Regions from separate parts of the Homo sapiens genome. Here all the other regions are linked to region 3. Evidence: promoter capture Hi-C in 16 types of primary human blood cells and fetal thymus (Javierre and others, 2016). All regions are on one chromosome and are shown on one strand. The core of a region is centred on a gene start or on the middle of the fragment in contact, and the rest is flanking DNA. Distances in the headings are between cores, read along the strand shown.

Region 1 (2,700 bases), core at 162-2,661, 320 kb after region 3:
TCTGTTTTTACCTACTGTCATATTTTTAATCTAAAGATAGAATAATATTCTTTATTTCTGATTCCATTCTAATTTCCAAAATTTTGCACACTAAGCCAACATTCTAAGAAAGTAACTTCAAGTGTGCAATGTTAAGTTAATCCTACTTGTAAACTTTACACAAGTAGTTCAAATTGTATTTTAATCAATATATATATTATTCTATGCTTACTCTTCATTAAAAGCCTCCTACCTTTTCATCCAGCTTTACATGTTCTTATAATGTACTCACATTAGTCTGGAATCTGAATACTCAAAATAATTTGTCATCGGCAAAATCTGGAGACTTCAAAATGTGCTCTCTTCTTTAAATAATTTAATATGAAATATTTAAAAATATTTCATAGCTGTGAATTTATATTTCCTCACTATTTTAGAACCAAAAGCAAGTGGACATCACAAGTAGGCAAACAATTTTAAGGTATTACTTTCAGAGTATTAGGAAGAAAGGCAGAGTGTAAAATGCTTGCATATATTTTCTAAGGGTCCAAGGAGAAGATTAAAACTAATAAAATTTTAATATTTAACTTACTTTATGTTTATTAAGGATATCAAAGATGCAACCAGAAGAGTACCACTAAAGTACTACTTATCCTTTCTAGAAAAGGAGACTTTTCTGTCAAATAATAATAGCTATTATTAATCAGCTTGGGTTAACTGGCTCATCCTTATTGCAGGATTATAAAAAAATGCCCACTCTCTTTGTTAATTTTATTAATTTTAAAAATATTAGAAAAATTTTAAAAACTTTTACTAATAGCAAAACACAGAGCTAAAAGCAAACAAGCAAACAGAATAGAATTACTGGAAGCCCATTAAAGGCAAGAAGAAAAAAAGCTTCCATCCAAATCTTTATACCATCTGGCTCCCCATGACACTTAGCTGCCACTGAGAACTACTAACCTCCTCCCTACTGAGCACCTGCTAAACATTACACATCACCTACACGTCCAAAGTTAAAAATTTACGAAAAATAGAGGACTTCAAGTGAAAGCTGATCACACAACACTCTAACAAGTTTAACACAACATCACAAAATGAATTCTCTTCCTCTTTTTTGACTTTTGAAGCGAAGACTAACAATAACTGTAATAATGGGTGTCCTCCGAAACGCCTTTTATATTCAAGACTGATGACTTTTAAATACACACATTTCACCTCAGATTTACGGTAAAGTGTTTATGTAGTAAACATTAATTCCAAATACATTATTAAATGAGTACATTTTAAAATATCTAAATATAAAATACAAAAATAACTTATTTAGACCGTGAAATTCAACGTTTTAAATAACTTATTAAATCTCATTAAAATGACTGCCAACAAAAAAGTCAAAAATTGCAAAAAAAAAAAAAAACCACTTACTTCATTTCCATGTTTTTGTAAGAATTCAATTTCCTGTTGTGTGAATGTTGTCATGGAGATAGATTTCACCCTGTGTGGTGGATTTAATCCTCGCCTAAAAGATAAAATATTTTACAAAATTTACTAGTACATACCACATTTTTAAAATGACACATCTAGTAATTCAAAATATTTCTAACCAACACACAAACTTGAAACAGTGTTTTCATTCCATAAACTCAAAGTATTTTTAAATTATTTTAAACTATTAAACTTAATAATAGATATTAAGGTTTGGTTAGACTCATTAAATAATAGACTTAACAATAAATTCAATTAACCACCTAGTTAAAAACACAAAGTAACTGTGACACATGAGTTTCTAGGAAATGCAAATAGTGCTTTAGTGTGTTTCTGATGAAAAGACTATACATATGAAGAACTCTATGAAAGAATTATTAAAATTCTTTAAATATTTCATATTTCCTAAGAAACAATGATATAATAAGACCAGAGCTATACAAATATCCTTATCAAACAGCTGTTAGCTTTAAATAAGCTTAAGACTAATTTAGAAAACTATATTACAAGTAATATCATGAATTGAGGTAATAAACCAATTAGTAAAGTCCTATCTTGCCATCAATTCAAGTAAGAATTTATAATAAAGAACATTTTCAGTCACCTCAAAAGACAGTGTGTACAAGAGGAAACTGCAGGGACATACGGAAGAGATTCAAAAAAATTGCTGCATGCATGATTTAACAATTTTTAAGGTCCTTTAGAACCCTGAAGCCTTTTCTGTATGGATGGCCTTAAAAGGACTTTACCTTGATGTTTGAACACGCACATGAAAAACCGAGTGGAAATGCACTCAAACAGATTTAATAACTATTTACATGTTGTCCAACTATCTTGTGGGCAGGTCCACCCACAAGAATAATGGCCCAATAATCTATGCAAAATACCAAGTAACCTACGCAAAGTTCCACAGAACTACTTTGGGGTCATGTTCTCTGACAAAGGTCTCATTTGAACTCTAGGTTCTACAGCAATTACTGCAGTAATTTTTTTTTTTTTTTTTGAGACGGAGTCTCGCTCTGTCGCCCAGGCTGGAGTGCAGTGGCGCAGTCTCGGCTCACTGCAAGCTCCACCTCCCGGGTTCACGCCATTCTCCTGCCTCAGTCTCCTGAGTAGCTGGGACTACAGGTACCCGCCACCACGTCCGGCTAATTTTTTGTATTTTTAGTAGAGACAGGGTTTCACCGTGTTAGCCAGGATGTTCTCAATCTCCTGACCTCGTGATCCACCTGCCTC
Region 2 (2,700 bases), core at 193-2,692, 430 kb after region 3:
CATACATTTCTCATGGACAGTTAGCTGTGTCTACCATATAAAGCTCACGTTCTAGTAAAACTCCTAGCTGATTTGACTGCAGTGTGTTTAGAAGGGGATACCCTGAGGTAACTCTGGTGGGTGTTTAATTCCCATTTGTATCACATGAATTTCCCCTGGAAGTAGTGAAACTGGTCCCTGCAGTAGATCATTCTTCAAAGAAAAGTTTTTCTTTTTTTTTTTTCTTTTTGAGATAGCATCTCACTCTGTCACCCAGGTTGGAGTGCAGTAGTGTGATTACGGCTCACTGCAACTTCCGCTTCCCAGGCTCAAGCAATCCTCCCACCTCAGCCTCTTGAGTAGCTGGGACCACAGATGTGTGCTACCATGCTTGGCTTATTTTTTGTATTTTTTTGTAGAAACAGGGTCTCACCACATTGCCCAGGCTGGTCTCAAACTCCTGGGCTCAAGTGATTCACCTGTCTGGGCCTCCCAAAGTGCTGGGATTACAGGCGTGAGCCACCGTGCCAAACACAAGTTTTTCTAATACCATTAACACTGTTCTCATTTGAATTAACTAGGTAGTTTTGATTTGTTGTTTAAAATGTTGCATGTCATTCTAGAGTTACAAGCACAAACATGGTTCAGATTCTTATAAAAGGATCTAGATATTCTAGAGAAAGTTTCCTCCGTACCATTTAAATGAGATCATAGTGGTGGCTATGGTGAACTCTCTTGCTCAATAGCCATTTCCATGTCCCTCTAGTATTTGCTTTTTTTCCATATAGCAGAGGCTGAGATGATTAGAAATTACATGGCACAGAATTCTCTGCATCTGGGATCTGGATATTGCAAGAATTAGATCAACCCCTGAGGGGTATAAAAGGCAGAAATGAGGTGAAGGTCATTTTCCTCCACCTTTTATCTGTTGTTGCTGATAAGGAAGATTAGGGTGGAGGAGTTGAGTTTTCTGCACTGCAGCAATGTTCCTGGGTCCAGATAGCGTCATGCAAGTTAATAACCAGTTGCAGAGGCAGCTGTAGTCAGCTGGGCACCCACCACCCCACCCAACCAATTTTTGTATTAGCTGGGCGTGTTGGCAGGTGCCTATAATCCCAGCTACTTGAGAGGCTGAGGCAGGAGAATCACTTCAGCCCAGGAGGCGGAGGTAAATTCAGTGTTGTAGCATTCAATCACTAACCCGGGGTGTGCAGAGTGGTGATGACAACAGCGGCAATGGTTCCTGGACCGCAGCCGTACTGGGGTGTTTGTGAACTTAATCGTTCCAGAGGTGGCTTCTTGATGTCCCCGCCTTTTTTCTTGACAGAGTCTCGCTCTCGTTGCCCAGGCTGGAGTGCAGTGGCGTGATCTTGGCTCACTGCAACCTCCGCCTCCCAGGTTCAAGTGATTCTCCTGCCTCAGACTCCCAAGCAGCTGGGATTACAGGCGTCTGCAATCACACCCGGCCAATTTTTGTATTTTTAATAGAGACGGGGTTTCACCATGTTGGCCAGGCTGGTCTCAAACTCCTAACCTCAGGTGATCCACCCACCTTGGCCTCCCAAAGTGCTGGGATTACAGGCTTGAGCCACAGTGCCCAGCCTTCCCTGCCTTTTTGGCTACTGCAGGGACAGCGGCATCTCCCGGGCCAGTTCAGCAGTCGGGACCTGCGAAGCATTTCTGCAGATAAGTCTAGAGGCTGCTTTTCTAGCCCTTCCAGCAATTTTGTACACATGATTCTCCCATTACATCTCTTCCCAATTCCATAGCTAGAATTTCAGTTTTCTGCAACTAACTGACACTAGTCTATGAAACGCCCTTCTATCTTTTATACCAAATTCTAGCCACGCTCCAAAGCTGTGTGGAATCCTGGCTCCCAGCCCTTCTTGATGGAATCTTCCTTTTTCTGAACTCCAAGGCTTTTGCTGTTTTGGCACGCCATGTGACAAGTTATTTGCATACTTTTCCATCCTTGGTTTTAGCAACTTTTAGTTTTAGCTCTTTTGGTTGCAGAAAAATAGAAACCCACTAAAAACAATATGAAAGGATAATAATATAGAGGCATCTCATAGAAAACAAAGACAGAGTCTGCAGTCAGTTTTCATAGGGTAGAAATTAAGACGTAAAATGCCATTGAGAAACCAAGCAGTCACCCTTTCTCTACCACCCTCTAAAGCTGTGTGGTCTCCTACCTCCTCTTCCTGCATATTTCTCCTCTCTGTCTCTCCTCCTCCTTCTGTTTGTATAGATTGGTTTCTCTGTTTCTCCCAGCAGCGTTCATGATTTCATTGTATTGTATTGTATTTTTATTATTTTTATTTATTTTTCTTTTTCTACAGAAGGGTCTCACTCTGTCGTTCAGGCTGGAGTGCAGTGGCATGATCATAGCTCACTACAACCTCCAACTTCTGGGCTCAAGCAATCCTTCCGCCTCAGCCTCTTGAGTAGGTGGGGATTTAGGTATGTGCCACCATACCTGGCTAAATATTTTTGTGGACATGGGGTCTCCAGGCTGGTCTCAAACTCCTCACCTCAGATGATTCTCTCACCTCAACCTCCCAAATCACTGCCATTACAGGCATAAGCCACCGTGCCTGGCTGTTATTTTTATTTTTTGTAGGGATGGGGTCTTTCTATGTTGCCCTAGCTGGTCTTGAATTCCTGGCCCCAAGCACTCCTCCCACCTCAGCCTCCCAAGTAGCTGGGATTATAGGTGTGAGC
Region 3 (2,700 bases), core at 138-2,637:
GAAGTTTTGGTTCAATAATAGAATTGAGAAACACAGGACTTCTCATAAGTGGGATATCTTCAGTAAGAAATACAAATTGACAATATTTCATTTCAGTTCACTATAATCATTCAAGAATATGAGCAGCCCCTTCCCTACTGCTTGAAGGAACCCTTATGTAGATAAACTTCCAAAAGCAGAAAATGAATAAATTGGCAGATTTTAATCTATTATCTGGCTACTAAGTATTGAGAAATAGAGCTACAAAGGGAAATATGATTTATAGGAGTGAAAACACTTTGAAATTGTCCTATTAATTAATAGGAATGTTTAATTTTGTTCATAAAAGTTCAACATGTGGTTGGGCATGGTGGCTCATGCCTGTAATCCCAGCACTTTGGGAGGCCAAGGAGGAAGGATTGCTTGCCTCCAGGAGTTCGAGACCAGCCTGGGCAACACAGTGAAACCCTGTCTCTACAAAAAAAAAAAAAATGTAAAAAAATTAGCCAGGTGAGTGGCACACGGCCGTGGTCCCTGTTATTCAAGAGGCTGAGACTGGAGGTTCACTTGACTCCAGGAGGTTGAGGCTGTAGTGAGCTGTAATCATGCCACTGCACTCTGGCCTGGGTGATGAAGTTAGACCCTGCCTCAGAAAAAAAAAAAAATTCAATGTGCATTTTTAGGAATGCACCTGTTGCTAAAAGTGTTGTGTGACTATTGAGCAATAAAGCAATACTTGGACATTCCCGAGTCAGATTACAACATGCTGTAAGGTAAGGGATTAATGTTATTTTAAAGTTGGCAAGCAATGTCCCCCATGCCTTGTGGGGATGTTGATGTCAGGTATTATAATCTACTTCTAAAGGATGAGTTTTGAACTTTACCAAAACTATTAAGTTGGGAGGTACGAAAGTTGGGGACACAGGAGGATTCTCTACATTTCAAAATGGCCCCATCTACTGGTAACATTACACACTTTATATCACTCCCAGAAACATCACTTTGGCTTTATCCTGAAGTTTAGGGATCTCTAAGAGCCCACCACTCCCCAAATCTGCTGAGATTGACAGCAGAGAGGAAAGCCTGATCCGCAGCAGTAACTCTTCTCTCCTCCACTCCACCATGGGCAGACAACTTCCATCACTACCTCTTGTATACTTCCTAACAGTTTTCCATCCCTTAGGGACCCCCAGTTGAGCTCAAGGCTAAAAGGAAAATGAAAATAGTCTTTCTTCTGTGCTAGCGGAAAGAGCGACACTTACCTTCTGATTCGCCGCAGAGGTGGAGTAGCAGCACTGACATCAAAGCAGCCAGGAGCAAACTCTTGGTACAGCACATGGTTTTTAGCTCAAAGAACAGATCTGCTCAGTGTTGAGTACCCAGTTCTTTGGGAGTGCTGTTATATTCTGACAGCAGCCTGGGATGGCCCTATTTATAGCAAATATTGGGAATGTACACAGAAGGCGTGTTGCCACATGGGGTTTTCCCCATTGATCAACTGGCCCCATCATGTCATCATAAAAAAAACCCGCAAGGAAAACTTCCTGCTTTTTCCTCATATTGGGAAGGTGCGAAGGTCAGGGTGGGGGACAGGAAGTTGAGAAGGGGAGAATCCTGTTAAATTCTTTGTATTTGCAAAGAGCAAAAGCAGCTCAGCCCTGTGACCCAGAAAAGACTTTCATCCAGTTTTAACTTAATCATTTTTGTGTCTGAAAATAGAGGATTAACAGCGATACAAAGGTCAGCCCCACACAGGAACATTCCAGAACTCCTATTGTTACACCCTATTTGCTTTCCAGAACCAGTCAAGGAGGAGGGGGAGGAGGAGCAGGTGGGATGCCAGGCATACTCTGCTACACATTTACCATCACATGGTTGAGGTTCAGCTGTCATGAAGAAGACCCTGAGTTGCTAGACTAACATTCAGAGCAGGTACTATAACAGTGCTACAGTACTGTCCGCAGTTAGAGTGGAAAATATCAGCCTTTAAGTAAGGCTCAAACCTCAGCTTCACCTTGATTTAATGTCAACTCTTCTAAGAATCTTATACATTCACATGGCTTTAATCAATATTGCAGTTCAGAAAATAATCCTTACCTACCTTTAACTCTCCATGATGATGTACTAATATAACTCAATATAGAGCCTCAGAATTGTTGAGGAAAGAAAACCTATCAGCAGTAGCTAGTCAGCACAGCAAATGTCAAATAACAGTACTAATGATGATAATGTAATATGAATCCCTAACCTAAGGCAGTATAAGAACTCTCCACTAGACCCAAATAGGTTGAAAGTAAAAGGATCAAAAGAAAGGTATACCAAACAGTAAACAAAAGAGAACTGGAGTTGGTGATGCCTATATCAGACAAAATAGATTTTTTTTTAATGTTACCGGAAATAAAAAGGGACTTTCATGGTAACACAAAATTAACCCATTGGGAAGATGTAAAACCTATAACCATATATATACCTAACAGTAGCACCCCAAACTACAGAAAGCAAAAACTGACAGAATTGAAGGGAAGAATAGGAAATTTTATTTTATTTTATTATTATAATTTCTTTTGAGACAGAATTTTGCTCTTGTTGCCCAGGCTGGAGTGCAGTGGCACCATCTCGGCTCACTACAACCTCCGCCTCCTGGGTTCAAGCGATTCGCCTGCCTCAGCCTCCTGAGTAGCTGGGACTACAGGCACGTGCCACCACGCCCAGCGAATTTTT
Region 4 (2,790 bases), core at 290-2,789, 480 kb after region 3:
CCCTCCAGAGTAGCTGGGATTACAGGCGTCCACACCACCATGCCCAGCTAATTTTTGTATTTTCAGTAGAGACAGGGTCTCACCATGTTGGCCAGGCTGGTCTTGAACTCCTGACCTCAAGTGATCTGCCCACCTCAGCCTCCCAAAGTGCTGGGATTGCAGGCATGAGCCACCGCACCCAGCCAGTACCTCATTTTTTTATGGCTGAATAAGAGTTACTATATGGCTAGATGATGTTTTGCTTATCCATTCATCAGCTGATGGATATTTTACTTGCTTCCACCTTTTTGCTATTACAGACATTTTTGGATATCATGACTTGGAAGACGGTAATGGCATCTTGTAGATAGAGATCACAAATGTTGCAAACATTCTACAGTGCAAAAAGGTGGCTCTCACCACAACAAGGAATTTTCCAGTCCAAAATGCCAACAGTGCTGAGGTAGAGCACTATTGCTCTACCTCATTCTAGCATCCACTGCAGAATGATACAGAGCAAATGTTCTGGGGATCTCACTTTATCGATTCTGAGTTAACACCTGAATGAATCATCAATGTTATCAGTACTCAGGCCCTTACTGCTTCTCTATTTCAGTCAATTTCTAGAAGCTACTAGAACCCTGGCTCCCTTACCCCTTCCTCCCTTGCTCACTGCAGTTGAGTGCTTCTTGAAGGCTACTGGACCCTTCTATAAGCTTGTATAAACTTGAAGTCCAAACCATCATCTTTGCTTTCAATAAGCAGCTGGTATTAATCTCAGAAACTCGTCTTTCATTTCAGGATCTGGCTCCTGCCACAGGATTTTAAGTCTCTCCTAACAATAACATTTATATATATTGAGCTTTTAACACGAATTAGAACATGCATGATTACATTTAATTCTCATAACAATCTCATGCACTTGGCATTATTCTTATCTTTATTTCAGAGATACGCCCTAGAACTGTTAAATAACTTGCCCAAAGTTATGTGGTTAGTAAATGGCAAAGTAGGTCTTCAAAATTAGTTCTAATTCTCACACAAACTTTTTTACCCCAGTGTTATACACTCTGAACATCTATCACATTTGACTAAATATCACAATTAATGCAGGAATGAACCCCGTAGAGTCTTAAAGCCTGGGTCTACTGAGGGAAATCCCGGCAAACTTTCTTCACTCACTCTTAAAATAATCAATCAGGGAATTGCTTGGGTTGCTTTCAATTAGGAGAAGCAGAAAGACCAACAGAAAAACCCGAAGAATACAATAAGGAGCATTTCTTTCCTGGCAAAATCGTCACTGTAAGACAATTATTTTCACAGGTATAATTCCCAAGGAACTTTGGGGAGTTAGAAAGCTGGGCCTTAAACTGGGAGCACACTGGATACTTTTGTTTTATGTAACCATCTTGGTAACTTTCATTATTTTCTGCTATTAAAGAATTTTGTATCTTCTGCATGCGTTGATGTCTTTCCCTCACTCATATCATTGTCCTGCTGAAACCAGACAGACAGCAAACTTTTTGAATGCAGGAACTATGTCTCATTAATTCCTATACTGCATATAGTATCTCAGAGATAAAAGTTAAAAAATGTTTGTTAAATAATACAATTCTGCAAGTATGTTAGTGCCTTTCTGTCATGTAAAGGCTCAGATTTAGTGCTTTTCACCAAATACCTAGAATATCCAAACTAACTGTGAGCATATTACCTCAATTATGTCAGCAGAAACTTACAATCTAAGAACCTAATCCTAGAAAATTGCATTGCCCTAGACAGTATGGGTGCTTTACCCTCTTTGGAAAGTATTACATGCAAAATGAAACCAGACACAAGCAGTACCATTATTAATAAAAACATATGTTTGCACATTGTCTCATACTAGCTTCATGACAACATGTTAGAAGTTCAAAAGCTATATGAAAAAGATGTAACCCCAGCAATCATCACGGCAAAGCAGCTTCAAAGGTTAGCTGTAAGTCAATGACAAAGGCAGGATTCGAACTCTGTTACTAACACCTTGTTAGTCTACACTGCTACATTTAGGTCAACTGGCACATTAACGTGATGCAGTAGAGTAGCTCAGTAGAAACTTTTAATCAAGTAGCGAGAATGGGTAGTGTCAAGCGAAAAAGGGTTTTCTTTGCCCTGTTTGCTAGACTGATTTTATAACAAAGTGATACATTTACTTCTTATTGCTAAACTTCCCAACATTTTCTTATTATTTAACAAGTAACACCTACCCATAAAGGCTCTTTCTTCAAACCACAGGAACTTAATAATACTTACCACAAAACTTACATTTTTCCTAAAACATAATATTCAAATTTTAAAAATAGCATAATAACTTATTTGGCACATTTGTAAATTAGAATTATTAGTAATGTTCCATATGGAAAGCTTTCATGACATATTGCTAAAGATATGATAAAGCCTCTTTGCTCTTCTCTTTTACCTTTGTCTACATTATTTCAAATTCCGGTGATACTAAAGTTCTACTTACTTCTTCATTTTGAGGGGTTGTAGGAGGTCTTTCTAAATCCAGAAAATCTAGTGGTCTTTCACTCAGCGTAAGTACACGAGGTGGTGTTTTCAGTGCCAGGGGTTTAAAGGGAGTTGACTGAATAAGGTCAAGATCTGCTGGTCTTGAAAATGAAACATCTTCATTATTTCCTAGGAGTTTTCAAGAAAAGAGACAAAGAAGAGAAAAGCGGGAGGTTTTTTAAAAAGACAGTGATTTTTGTTAAAATGTATTTACCTTCTTCTGCTTTTGAATTATACCACCCAATAAGCATTAGTTTCTTTCAAAAT
Region 5 (2,700 bases), core at 14-2,513, 380 kb after region 3:
CCAAATCTCATGTTGAAATGTGATCCCAGCTGGGTGTGGTGGCTCACACCTGTAATCCCAGCACTTTGGGAGGCTGAGGCGGGTGGATCACTTGAGGTCAAGAGTTCAAGACCAGCCTGACCAACATGGTGAAACCCTGTCTTTTCTAAATACAAAAAAGTAGCCAGGCATTGTGGTGCATGCCTGTAATCCCAGGTACTTAGGAGGCTGAGGCAGGAGGATCACTGGAACCCAGGAGATGGATGTTGCAGTGAGCCGAGATTGCGCCATTGCACTCCAGCCTGGGCAACAAGAGTGAAACTCTGTCTCAAAAGAAAAAAAAAAAAAAAAAAAAAAGAAATGTGATCCCAAATGTTGAAGGTGGGGCCTGGTGGGAGGTGTTTGGGTCATGAAGATGGATTCCTCATGAGTGGCTCAGTGCAGTCCCCATGGTAATGAATGAGTTCTTGCTCTGTTAGCTCACATGAGAGCTGGTTGTTTAAAGAAGTCTGGAACACACCCCCCTCCACCCACCTTCTTGCTTTCTCTGTCACCATGTGACATGCCTGCTCCCTCTGTGGCATCCACCACAGGTAAAAGCTTCCTGAGACCTCACCAAAAGCCAAATAGATGCTGGTGCCATGTTTGTACAGCCTGCAGAACCATGAGCCAAATAACCTTTTTTTAAAATAAACTACCTTGTCTTAGATATTCCTTTATAGCGACATAAAATGGAGTAATACAGAAAATTGGTACCAGGAGTGGGGTGTTTGTTGCTATAAAGTTACCTGAACATGTGGAAGCATCTTTGGAACTGGGTAATATGCAGAAGTTTAAAGAGTTTGGAGAGCTCAGAAGACAGGAAAATAAGGGAAAGTTTAGAACTTCTTAGAGACTGGTTAAATGAATGTGACCAAAATGTGGATACAAATATGGATAGTGAAGGCCCGGCTAATGAGGACTCAGATGGAAATGAGAAATTTGTTGGGAGCTGGACTAAAAATCACATGTGTTATGCCTTAGCAAAGAGCTTGGCTGCAATGTGTCCATGCCCTAGGCACTTATGAAAGGTTGAACTTAAGAGCAATGATGTAGGTTATCTGGCAAAAGAAATTTCTAAGCAGCAAGGTGTTTAAGAAATGATGTGGCTGTTTTTAATAACCTATGATCGATTTGGGAGAAAAGGAAACACATAAAGTTGGAACTTATAAGGAAAAGCAGAACATAAAAATTTAGATAATCTGCTAATTTAGATAATCTGCATCTGCCATGTGGTAGAAAAGGAAAGAGTGTTTTCAGGAGAGGAATTGAGGTGGGCTGCAAAGCAACCACTTGCTAGAGTAATTTGCATGACTAAAAGGGAGCCAAGTACTTTTCAGAAGGCATTTCAGAAGTTTTCAGGACAGTCCCTTCCATTACAGACTCAAAGGCCTAGGAGAAAAGAATGGTTATGGGAGGCCGGGGTGGGCAGATCACAAGATCAGGAGATCGAGATCATCCTGGTTTGATGAAACCCCATCTCTACTAAAAATACAAAAAATTAGCTGGGCATGGTGGTGGGCGCCTGTAGTCCCAGCTACTCAGGAGGCTGAGGCAGGAGAATGGCGTGAACCCAGGAGGCGGAGCTTGCAGTGAGCCAAGATCGCACCACTGCACTCCAGCCTGGGCGACAGAGCGAGACTCTGTCTCAAAAAAAAAAAACCAACAATGGTTACGGGGATCAGGCTCAGGGCCCCACTTCTCTGTGTCACTCAGGAGAGGCTGCTGCCCACGTCCTGGCTGCTCCAGCCCCAGGTCCAGCATGCCTCAAAGGGCCCTATGCATAGAACTGGCTGCTGCTTTGGAGATCACAAGCCTTAAGCCTTGGCAGTTTCTATGTGGTGGCAAGTCTGCAGGCACACATAATGCAAGAGTAAAAGAGGTTTGGCAGCTTCCCCTTAGATTTTAGAGGATCTCTGGGAAAGCTTGGTTGTCCAGGCAGAAGCCTGCCTCATGGGTAGAGCCCATACAGAAAGCCTCTACTAGGTCAATACAAGGGGAAATGTGTAGTTGGAGCCCCCACAGAGAGTCCTCACTGGGGCACTTCCTAGTGCAGTTGTGGGAAGGAGGTTGCTGTCTGCCAGACCCAAGAGTGGTAGAGCCACCAGCGGCTTGCACCCTAAGCCTGGAAAGCTGCAGGCATTCAATTCCAACCCATGAGAGCAGCCATGGGGGCTGTACCCTACAAAGCCACAGGGGTGGAACTGGCCAAGGCATTGGGAGCCCACTCCTCACACCAGTGTACCCTGGTTGTGGGACATGGAGTCAAGGATTATTCTGGAGCTTTAAAGTTTAATGTCTTTCCTGCTGGGCTTTGGACTTGTGTGGGGCCTATTGTCCCTTTCTTTTGGCCAATTTCCCTTTTGGAATAGGAATGTTTACCCAATGCCTGTACAGCCATTGTATCTTGGAACTCGTTTTTTATTTTAGAGGCTCATAGGTAGAAGAAATTTTCCTTGAGCCTCAGGTGAGACTTTCGACTTTTGATTGAGCTGATGTTGGAACTAGTTACAACTTTTGATTGAGTTGATGCTGGAACTAGTTAAGACTTTTGATTGAGTTGATGCTGGAACTAGTTAAGACTTTTGACTGAGTTGATACTGGAACTAGTTAAGACTTTTGGGGACTATTGAGAAGGGATGACTGTATTTTGAAACATGGGAAGAACATAATATTTGAAGG

The links. Contacts are between HindIII fragments. The CHiCAGO score rates a contact against its expected background, and 5 or more counts as called.
Region 1: a fragment that was not itself captured here is called in contact with the fragment with the promoter of CCL20 in region 3 in 2 of 17 cell types (M2 macrophages and monocytes); the score reaches 5.2 in M2 macrophages.
Region 2: a contact is called between a fragment that was not itself captured here and the fragment with the promoter of CCL20 in region 3, in 2 of 17 cell types (monocytes and M0 macrophages). The highest score is 9.3, in monocytes.
Region 4: a fragment that was not itself captured here is called in contact with the fragment with the promoter of CCL20 in region 3 in 6 of 17 cell types (monocytes, M2 macrophages, activated CD4 T cells and 3 more); the score reaches 10.9 in monocytes.
Region 5: a fragment that was not itself captured here is called in contact with the fragment with the promoter of CCL20 in region 3 in 1 of 17 cell types (monocytes); the score reaches 6.2 in monocytes.

The regions. Positions count from the first base shown.
Region 1 is chr2:227,490,345-227,493,044 of GRCh38, reverse strand. It overlaps AGFG1 (ArfGAP with FG repeats 1), which reads right to left. Exons shown (of 13, transcript NM_004504.5): 2 at 1,405-1,498. Among named protein-coding and RNA genes, the nearest start is that of AGFG1, 20 kb to the right of the region's middle. The HindIII fragment of the contact is 1,066 bases long and covers 879-1,944 here.
Region 2 is chr2:227,383,055-227,385,754 of GRCh38, reverse strand. No RefSeq gene overlaps it. Among named protein-coding and RNA genes, the nearest start is that of SCYGR1, 3.5 kb to the left of the region's middle. The HindIII fragment of the contact is 4,202 bases long and covers 1-2,700 here.
Region 3 is chr2:227,812,529-227,815,228 of GRCh38, reverse strand. It overlaps CCL20 (C-C motif chemokine ligand 20), which reads right to left and starts at 1,387. Exons shown (of 4, transcript NM_004591.3): 1 at 1,242-1,387. The coding sequence starts at 1,317. The HindIII fragment of the contact is 16,817 bases long and covers 1-2,700 here.
Region 4 is chr2:227,332,281-227,335,070 of GRCh38, reverse strand. It overlaps MFF (mitochondrial fission factor), which reads right to left. Exons shown (of 9, transcript NM_001277062.2): 4 at 2,483-2,652. Among named protein-coding and RNA genes, the nearest start is that of MFF, 8.4 kb to the right of the region's middle. The HindIII fragment of the contact is 1,684 bases long and covers 698-2,381 here.
Region 5 is chr2:227,431,427-227,434,126 of GRCh38, reverse strand. No RefSeq gene overlaps it. Among named protein-coding and RNA genes, the nearest start is that of MIR5703, 39 kb to the left of the region's middle. The HindIII fragment of the contact is 1,364 bases long and covers 582-1,945 here.